Linked DNA regions of Homo sapiens: all the other regions are linked to region 3. The links are contacts of gene promoters, found by promoter capture Hi-C in blood cells and fetal thymus (Javierre and others, 2016). All regions are on one chromosome and are shown on one strand. The core of a region is centred on a gene start or on the middle of the fragment in contact, and the rest is flanking DNA. Distances in the headings are between cores, read along the strand shown.

Region 1 (2,734 bases), core at 52-2,551, 110 kb after region 3:
ACAGAGCCTTTGAAATCAGAGACCCAAGCCAGTGTCTGGGTGCTGGCTCAGGCTGCGAGATTTCACCCCTGGTTGTTATTTGAGGTGATGGAGACATTTAAGGAACATTATGAATCTGGCTCAGGGGGTCCTACCTTGCTAGTGCCTGGTGAGCCTGGAATCTGAGAGGATTGAGAAAGGACTGATTTGCATGGGGATGAGCAGGGCAGGTCATGTACGCTGGAGGGGTTAAGACTCCCAAAGGGCAGAATGCTTAGACTCGTAAGGTTTCTGAAGAACATTTAGAGTCTGTGTCTGACCATGTTATTTAGATGACTAAATGAGACTTGCCCACTCTGGGTCACTGCATTTGCCCCACAGTAAAGGAGCCCACCTGAGGCCCCACAGAGGCGGAGTGGGTGCTGCACGTCACACAGGTGTACTGCTTCACACCAAGCACCTGCTGTGCCTTCCTAGTTGGGCGATGCTGGGGCTTCAATGAAGAACCACGTGAAGAAGCTTCAGAAACAACCCCCATTGAACTTCAATTTTCCCTTCCCGTCTCCAACCCTAATTTCCTCCAACTTCCCTCAAACATAAAGCTCTCTCTCCTTTATGTATGTAAGTTTCTCAGATCAGGTGCCTGTGCTACCCTCCCAGCCAGCTGGAAGTCCATCCAGGTGTCAGACTTGGGTCCCTTGCTACTTCGGCCCAGCCAGCTCTTGTTTCACACCTCACAGGATAAGGTGCAGCCTGGGGACTGTAGGGCCATTGCTTCTCTCTCCTGTGTCCTCAGCTTCCAGCCAGGTGTGAGAATAGACATGTGGGCCTAGGCGGAGCTGAGTCTGGGAGTATGGGGAAGAACTCCACAGGGCCTCAGGCCCTAAACTTGCAGGTCCCATGGGCTGTTAGCTAGACCCATTGACCTTGAAGAAGGTCAGCAATGGTCTTTTTTCACTTGAGCACAGCCTCTGGGGAGCTTTGGGGTTGATCAGGGATCAGAAAGGCTGGTGGACAGGTCGCAGGAGAGGGGAAGCCCCTCCTAGCAAGAGTCCTTATGGATATAGCAGGGCCTGGGGCCACCCCAAGGAGGGGAACAGGGCAAGGAAACTTCCCAGAGAGAGGGGAGCTAGAGGGGATTTCTGTGTCCAGGTGATGCTGCTCAGCAGCACCATGGGGAGTCTGGGTCAGAGACCTCCAAGGGGCAGTTGGGGTCTGGGATCCAGGGTTATCTTATCTACAGCCAGCAGATGTTGGGTGCAGTTTCTGGGGTATATAAAGTATCTAGGCTCTAATCGGCTAAAAAAGAGCTTCACTTGGACTATATTTAAAGCAACTGGATGTGAGAATTGGGTTCTTTTTTAATAGAGAGGAGGGTCTTGCTATGTTTCCCAGGCTGGTCTTGAGCTTGCTTGACCTCAAGCAGTCCACCTGCCTTGGCATCCCATAATGCCAGGATGGATGTGAGAATTTGAATGGGCTTCGGGCTGACGTTCCTACCTGCTGTGAACTAAACAACTGGGAGCCGCTGTTTTAGGCTAGCACAAGGGATGGAGCCCCTTTATCAGACCTTTCCTCTCTCTGTCTTTCTCCCTAAGTGGCTTATTTAAGAACTTCTTTTAACCCTGTCTACTGGTATTCCTGAGAGTTCTGATAAATGTTTTTCTCAACCTTGTTAGCTACCCAGTAATGCTTTAGCACCTGGGTGATACTCCAATGCCCGATAGAGAGCCGTGCCCTGGGGAAGTTGCCTGACTGGCCAGGCCCTTGCTTTTATCACTTAGCAGGAGTCCTGCCCATGGTCACTGTGAATCCTCCCTGGCTGCTGTCCTTGGAGTAGTCTTGCTAAAATACTACCGTTAGCCGGGTGTGGGTGGCGTGCATCTGTAGTCCCAGCTACTCTGGAGGCTGAGGCAGAAGGATAGCTTGAGCCCAGGAGATCAAGGCTGCAGTGAGCTGGGATTGCACCACTGCACTCTAGCCTGGGTGCAGAGTGAGACCTTGTCTCTAAACAATAAATAAATGTAAAATTTATTTATCATCCATCCTGAAAACCTTCACTTGGCTTCATGTTAACAGCATGTGACCTTTGGAGGTGACCAAATGATATTTATGGCAAAGCTTCAGCCATCTGGGGCTTGGGTTTTAAGGGGTGATTTCATTTTCCGGATAACTGAGTATGCGCCTCTTCCAAGCACCAAGTTTTTGTTTTTTTTTTTGAGACGGAGTTTCACTCTTGTCCCCCAGGCTGGAGTGCAATGGCGCGATCTCAGCTCACTGCAACCTCCGCCTCCTGGGTTCAAGCGATTCTCCTGCCTCAGCCTCCCAAGTAGTTGGGACCACAGGCTCCTGCCACCACCTGCGGCTAATTTTTGTGTTTTTAGTAGAGACGGGGTTTCACCATGTTGGCCAGTCTGGTCTTGAACGCCGAACCTCAAGTGATCTGCCTACCTTGGCCTCCCAAAGTGCTGGGATTACAAGTGTGAGCCACTGTGCCCGGCCCAGTTAAAAAAAAATGTGATTGCTTAGGGACAAATCTTCATCAAATATATTCTTTGTCACTTAAATAGAGGTGGCTATGAGCACACTCTCTGCTTATCTTGTCTCATCTACTTCCCAGACATAGCCCAATGGAAGGAATAAAATAGATGCCAATAAATGTTTCTTATTGGATTGAACTGAAACCAAACGTTAAATCACTCAGAGTCTCCCCCTTGGGATGTAGTGATGTCATCTGCCCCTAATGGCATGGCTC
Region 2 (2,814 bases), core at 283-2,782, 93 kb after region 3:
AGTGAAGTCACAGAGCCTTGTGGGCATCTGGCTTCCCAGGCAGTTCCTCCCTGACCTTCTCTGGGCCCTCTGCCCCACATCCGAGACCTTTTACCAAATTCAGGCTATGTAGCTCAGTGCTGCTACGGAAAGGGGCAGGGGCTGAGCCACACAGGAGGTGGCTGGTTGACTCACTGCTCTCCAGATGGCCCTTGGAAGAGCCCCCAGAAAAGGTCCCATGCTTGTGAGCTCCTCCTCTCTGACTGGAAACACATGGGCTCTTCAGCCTGTGATATCCTTGGTTGGCCTTCTCCCTGCCTGGTTCTCTCCCTGCCTAGATGCTGACCTCTGCCCCCACAGCTGTGCCTCTCCTAAGTACTTATGGAGATCTGTAGAGCACCTCGCTGTGGGCTTGGCCCTGAAGATGCAGAAATGAAGCAGATGCGGGTGCTGCCCTGAGCTTCATGGTTTGGGCCCAGACAATGGGAATGGGGTGTGGTGGGAGCTGGGGCTGAGGTGCTCTCAATGCACCTGGGCACTCAGCTTTGCCCAGAGTAGTCTCGGAGGGCTTCTCAGAGTGAGTGCTGTGTAAGCTGATTCTTAATAGACACTTCGAGAATTTTCCAGGTGGACCCCGTGGGAAAGGGCTTTTTCCACAAAAGAACCAGCAGGGGTTGAGCACTTGAGCAAATGCCTCAGGCAACAGTTACCAGCTTCTACAGCGCTTGGGGCCTTGAGCAAATGCCTCAGGCAACAGTTACCAGCTTCTGCAGTGCTTGGGGCCGAGGTGTAAGAGGCAGGTGCTGCTCTTGAGGGCTTTGGAGCTGAGGACCGCAAACAGGGAACAACAAGAATGACAGCAGGGAACAGCAGGTGAATGGTGGAGTGAGAGAGGCCCTGGAGAGGCTGTGGGTGGGGCATGATGGCTTCCAGTGACATTCTGGGGAGCTGGCAAACATGGTTGCATCTGCATTGGGAAGATGTCCTCTAATGGTTTCTAGAAGGAGGATTTCAGAGGAACCAAACTGGAAACATAGAGGCCAATTAGAAGGCTGTCTCTGACACCCAGGGAGTGCTGGTGAGGGCCAGAATCAAAAGGGATGGAGGCAGAAGGCAAATTAGAGGGAGACATAGCAGGTGTTCTTCCCATGGCTCAGCCATGGGTGACTTGGAATTCTTGGGGAGGGGACCCCATGGTGGCATTGGAGACGGAGACCTGGTATACACCCTGACCACCTCCCTGGCAGCCCTACAACCTTGGCTGAATTGTCTGATCTCACCTGGCCTTGGTTTATCCTTCCGACAAAATGCCCAAAAAGAAGAAGTGAAGAACGTGGGTTCGTAAGTACTTTGAAGAGTAAAAGGTCAGGGGATGAAGGCATAGTTTGTTTTTTGCTGCCTAGTGGCCCAGAGAGGAGGTAGCACCTGTCAGGTGTACAGGAGGGGTCCCTGGGACTTGGGGCCCAGCTGGCACGGAGGGTCACATTCCAACCTCTGGATCCCTTGGATCTGCAAAAGGGTTCCAGTTCCCCTCTCCAACTCTGAGAGCAGCTGCACCTGATTCCCCCAGGGCCTTAGCTGTACCTCCTCCTCTGTGGTTAATAATTCAGGACAAGCCAGATGGCTCTGCTTTCCCCCTCCTTCTTTCCCATAGCCTCCTAGGGCTTGTTCCTCAACTAGGGGTGGGCGTCGCGGTGGGGAGCCCAGGAGGCTCAGCCGCTTGTAACTCAGATGAACCGTCACCACCAGAGCCTACAGCCTCTATGTGCCCTGGGGCTTCAGGTTCTGGCCGGGCGCCCCAGCTTTGGTGTCCATAGGCCCATTGCCTGGGGAAGTGGAGAGAGCACTTAGAAACCACAGGTCCTGCCTCCCGCCCAGCTCTGATTTCAGATGCGGTCTTGTCTACGGCACTTTGTAAATACTTGTAGGGTGAGGAGACCAATGGTACCATTTGCACCCTCAGAGACATTCTTTCCTTAGTTCTTCTGAATGTTCCTGTTAGGAAGAAGTTCTTTTTGTTTGTTTTTGAATTTAAATTTTTTTTTTTTTTTTTTTGAGATAGAGTTTTGCTCTTGTTGCCCAGGCTGGAGTGCAATGGTGTGATCTCGGCTCACCGCAACTTCTGCCTCCCGGGTTCAAGCGATTCTCCTGCCTCAGCCTCCCGAGTAGTTGGGATTACAGGCATGTGCCACCATGCCTAGCTAATTTTGTATTTTTAGTAGAGACGGGGTTTCTCCGTGTTGGTCAGGCTGGTCTTGAACTCCCAACCTCAGGTGATCCACCCGCCTCGGCCTCTCAAAGTGCTGGGATTGCAGGCGTGAACCACCACGCCTGGCCTGAATTTAGATTTTTAACCTGAAGTTGCCCTGAAGATATGCTCCCCGGTTAGGAAGGAATTCTCACACACACTCAGACGCGCTTTTCTCTTTCACATTTGGGATCCGAGGCTTCTGAGTACTCTGACTTGTCCAAGGCTGAGCAGCAGATCGGTGGCCTCTACTCCCAGTTCACACCTGCTTGGTTCCCATTCAAGGCCAGGGGCTAGACCTCAGTGAACTGCCACCTCCTGGGTCTGCAAAGTCCTGCAGGGACCTGCAGGTTGTCCCCATTCTCTGTGATTCTTAGCACCCATCTTGATAGGATCTTGGGCACAGGACCCCTGATTGGGCTGGGTATGGAGAGAGCCAGGCCCTGAGGCTATCCCAGCCCCTGGCCTGGGGCATCCCGGGAGAGGACAGGGACAGTGTCCAGTGTCACCCAGTGCAGGGAGAGACTTTCTTTGTCAACCCAGGAGGGCTTGTTAGAAGAAGAGGGCCGGGCAGCTCAGCTCTTTCC
Region 3 (3,015 bases), core at 175-2,674:
CACTGTAACAGTGACCGATAATGTGAGAAATGTGCTTTTTACAGTGCTGCTGGTGGGTAGACAAGTGCTTGCTGCAGTTGTTTCTGAATCTAGCCAGATGCTGGAGTCGTGAAGCTGTAAGCTCCGCGGGAGCAGGGACCATCTCTCTTTCTTGCACTACAGGCACTCAATAAATACTTGTGGCTGTGAACTGGCGTGTGGCCTTTGTGTGTTTATTTCTGCTAGCTGGCTGCAGGAGCGGGTTGTTGGTGATTTTAAGTCCCAGGCATAGAGAAGTCCTTGAGTTATGGGTTAAGGGGCGTCCATCCAGGAGCACAGTTCCCGTTGGGACTCTGTGGGCTCCGCAGATCTTTCTGGATGGATCCTAGGGCACCTCTTGGTGGAGGGAAGGAGCTGAAGCGTTCTAGGTGATGGTGGTACGCCTTGGTCCTCCTCTGCGTGGTCATGGTCAGGGGCACCTGGAGGCGAGTCGGGAACGATGGCCTTCCTGGCCCGTTCAGTTGGGTTCTGCCGTGACCCCAGGAGGTGAGCAGCTGTCAGGGGCTCGGCCTCCCCGGCTTCATCTGGAGTCATCTAGGCCGCCTTAATTTTAGCTTGTCCTCTCTCCTCCAGGGGAGCACCGCCGTCTCCTCAGCCTTATAAGGTGACAAGTAGGGATGGGTCACACATCACTAAGTTTTAGGTGTGCTCTCTTTAGTTCCATGACTTCAGATTTTGCCAAACAAGTCCACCCTGGCTCAACCTAACAAACACCTCATGTTTTTAAGGAATGTCACCAGGCGCTCCCCCACCGGGGGCTCTTCCCATTGGAGAGCCCTGTCGTGCCAGATCATCCGGATTAAACTGTTCGTGATCCTCTTCCAGCTACTCCCTGAGGTGGGGACCGGGACGGCTGCGCTCCCGGCTCTGCCGTTCCCTGGGCCGCGGCCCGGGCGTCCTGAGGGGAGAGCGCGGACCCACCGTGTGGCGAGCACCGCGCCCGGGGCTGGGCTTCGGTGAGCTGCCCGCTGCGCTCTGCCCTCCCTGGTTTACCATTTCGCTCCTAAGAAACTTCATTTTTTAAAATGAGGCTGTTTTAAGAGTCACAGTGGCCGCAAGTCGGCCGGTTCCCGCCCCCGAGTGCGCTCGGCTGCTGCGGACGGTGGGCGAGGAGCCCGGGGCGGGGATCCGCGCCGCCGCCCCCGAGTCCAGTCCCGGGCCCTGAGGACACGGGCGAGCCGGGGAGGAGCGGGGTCGCCGCGGCAGGTCTGAGGAACCAGGCGGGCTGCCCGAGTCGGAGAGGTTTCTTCCGGCGGAGGCGGCGGGGCCGGGCCGAGACTCCGCAGGGACGCGCCCCCGCCGCCGCCGCCGCCGCTCCCCCGCGCGGCCTGAGGAGGCGCCGCCGCCACTGAGGGAATGCGAGCCCGGCCCGGCGCGCGCGGGCAGCAGCGGCCGCTGGGGTGCGCGGGGCACCGCGGCGCCGCGGCGTAGAGCTGTCCAGCCGGCCCCGGCCGCCCGCCCGGCGCTTCCTTCTCAGCTCGCGGCCGCCTCAGCGAGAGCCGCCCGCCAGCACGTGCGCCGCCGCCGCCCGCCTGCGACGCTCGGGAGCAATGCCCGCCGGGGCTCTGCCGCTCGCCCGGGGCCAGCAGGCGGCGGGGGCGCGCGGGGCGCAGCCGGCCGGGCCGGGGCCGCGGGGCGGGCGCTCCCCGTGAGGCGGCGTGAGGTGGCGGCGGCCCAGCCGGGGCCCCGAAGAGGACAGAGCCCGCGGCCGCGCCGAGCGGGGTGAGTGCGTCCGGGCGGCCGCTCCGCAGGCCCGCGGTGAGTCCCGCAGTGCCGGGCGCTGGCCGGGGACCTGGGGATCTGGGCGGCGGCTCCCAGAGAGGCCCCGGCCCGCCCGCCCGCCGAGCCTCCAGCCCGCCGGGGGCTGGAGGAGGGAGCGGAGACCCGGGCAGGGAGGAGGGTGTGGCGTACGGGAGCCCCGCTCGGGAGACCGCCCGAGCCTGGCCTCAGTGAGTCGCCGGCCCTGGATCCGTGCCCGAAACGCTGATTTCCGAATTTCCGTCGGTCGCGACCGCGTGGGGGACCCCCGCCAGGGACAAGTGTCATAGCGGTCGGGGGGCAGGCGTGGGCAGTGCCGGTGCCAGGGCGAGGAAGGGGCTATCGGGAGGAAGCGGAGGTGAGCCCCCGGCCCGCCTTCTCTGCTTCCCGCCTCCAGCTGAACGTCCCCAGGCCCGGGCCGTGGCCTCTGCTTGTCGGGGGCCCAGGGTTGGGGTGTGGCCCGTCTCCATCCTCAGTGCCCCCTTCGTGTGGTAATGGGGTGCCGGCTCTGTCTTCTTCCCACCCCGAATCCTTTCTTATCCGTGGCAGGGCTGATCGGGGGGCCTTGGGGAGAGGGAAAGTTCAGTGTCCCCCGCCCCAGTGTGCACTGCCTCCCCGCAAGAAATCCCAAACGGCCACTCCAGGTGAACATAGTGCGCGCGGTGCAAATGTCATTTCAAGGCAAGTCCTCCAGGCTTGTCCCCTTTCCACCGACTTGCTCCTGCAGAGACATCCTGCACTCCTCTCCCTCCCACTGAAGTGTGGGCTGGGTGCCTCTCCAAACACCCCGGCCTACCTGCCTCCCCCACCCAGAGTCGGGATTCTTCAAAGGAGACCTCACTGGAACATCTGTCTTTGTCCACAACCAGCTCTCTCCCCGGCCTCCACCTGGGAGTGACCAGAGCTGCTAGGATAGACCCCCCACTTCTGGAGGGAAGGCAGTAAGTGCTCCCCTTCATCTGAATCTCCCCTAACATCCATCCCCCAGACTCCTCTCTGCTCTGAACTCCCACTGCCTGCTATCTGTATCTCCTGTGTAACTCTTATCACCGTCTGCCTTATTTTATAGTTACTTTTCCATCTGCCTTATCTCCCCTGCTGGACGGTGAGCTCCCGGGCTGGAGTTGATTCATCTCTGGTCTCCTGCCCTGGTCAGTACCCTGCGTGGAGTCAGTGTCTCCGTGGAGCAGAAGGCCCCTCCAACGCTTGCCTCTGGGA

Evidence for each region. Contacts are between HindIII fragments. The CHiCAGO score rates a contact against its expected background, and 5 or more counts as called.
Region 1: a contact is called between a fragment that was not itself captured here and the fragment with the promoter of PITPNM2 in region 3, in 7 of 17 cell types (megakaryocytes, fetal thymus, endothelial precursors and 4 more). The highest score is 12.9, in megakaryocytes.
Region 2: a contact is called between a fragment that was not itself captured here and the fragment with the promoter of PITPNM2 in region 3, in 3 of 17 cell types (fetal thymus, endothelial precursors and megakaryocytes). The highest score is 7.0, in fetal thymus.

What each region holds. Positions count from the first base shown.
Region 1 is chr12:123,035,131-123,037,864 of GRCh38, reverse strand. The region is part of intron 2 of PITPNM2 (phosphatidylinositol transfer protein membrane associated 2); the gene reads left to right. Among named protein-coding and RNA genes, the nearest start is that of MIR4304, 26 kb to the right of the region's middle. The HindIII fragment of the contact is 1,602 bases long and covers 501-2,102 here.
Region 2 is chr12:123,056,601-123,059,414 of GRCh38, reverse strand. All of the region lies in intron 2 of PITPNM2 (phosphatidylinositol transfer protein membrane associated 2), which reads left to right. Among named protein-coding and RNA genes, the nearest start is that of PITPNM2-AS1, 23 kb to the left of the region's middle. RefSeq lists an enhancer at 420-921. The HindIII fragment of the contact is 3,331 bases long and covers 1-2,814 here.
Region 3 is chr12:123,149,499-123,152,513 of GRCh38, reverse strand. PITPNM2 (phosphatidylinositol transfer protein membrane associated 2) reads left to right here and starts at 1,424. Exons shown (of 26, transcript NM_020845.3): 1 at 1,424-1,761. It also overlaps a transcript of MPHOSPH9 not described here. RefSeq lists silencers at 1,041-1,240, 1,261-1,520, 1,541-1,680, 1,781-1,870. The HindIII fragment of the contact is 4,737 bases long and covers 1-3,015 here.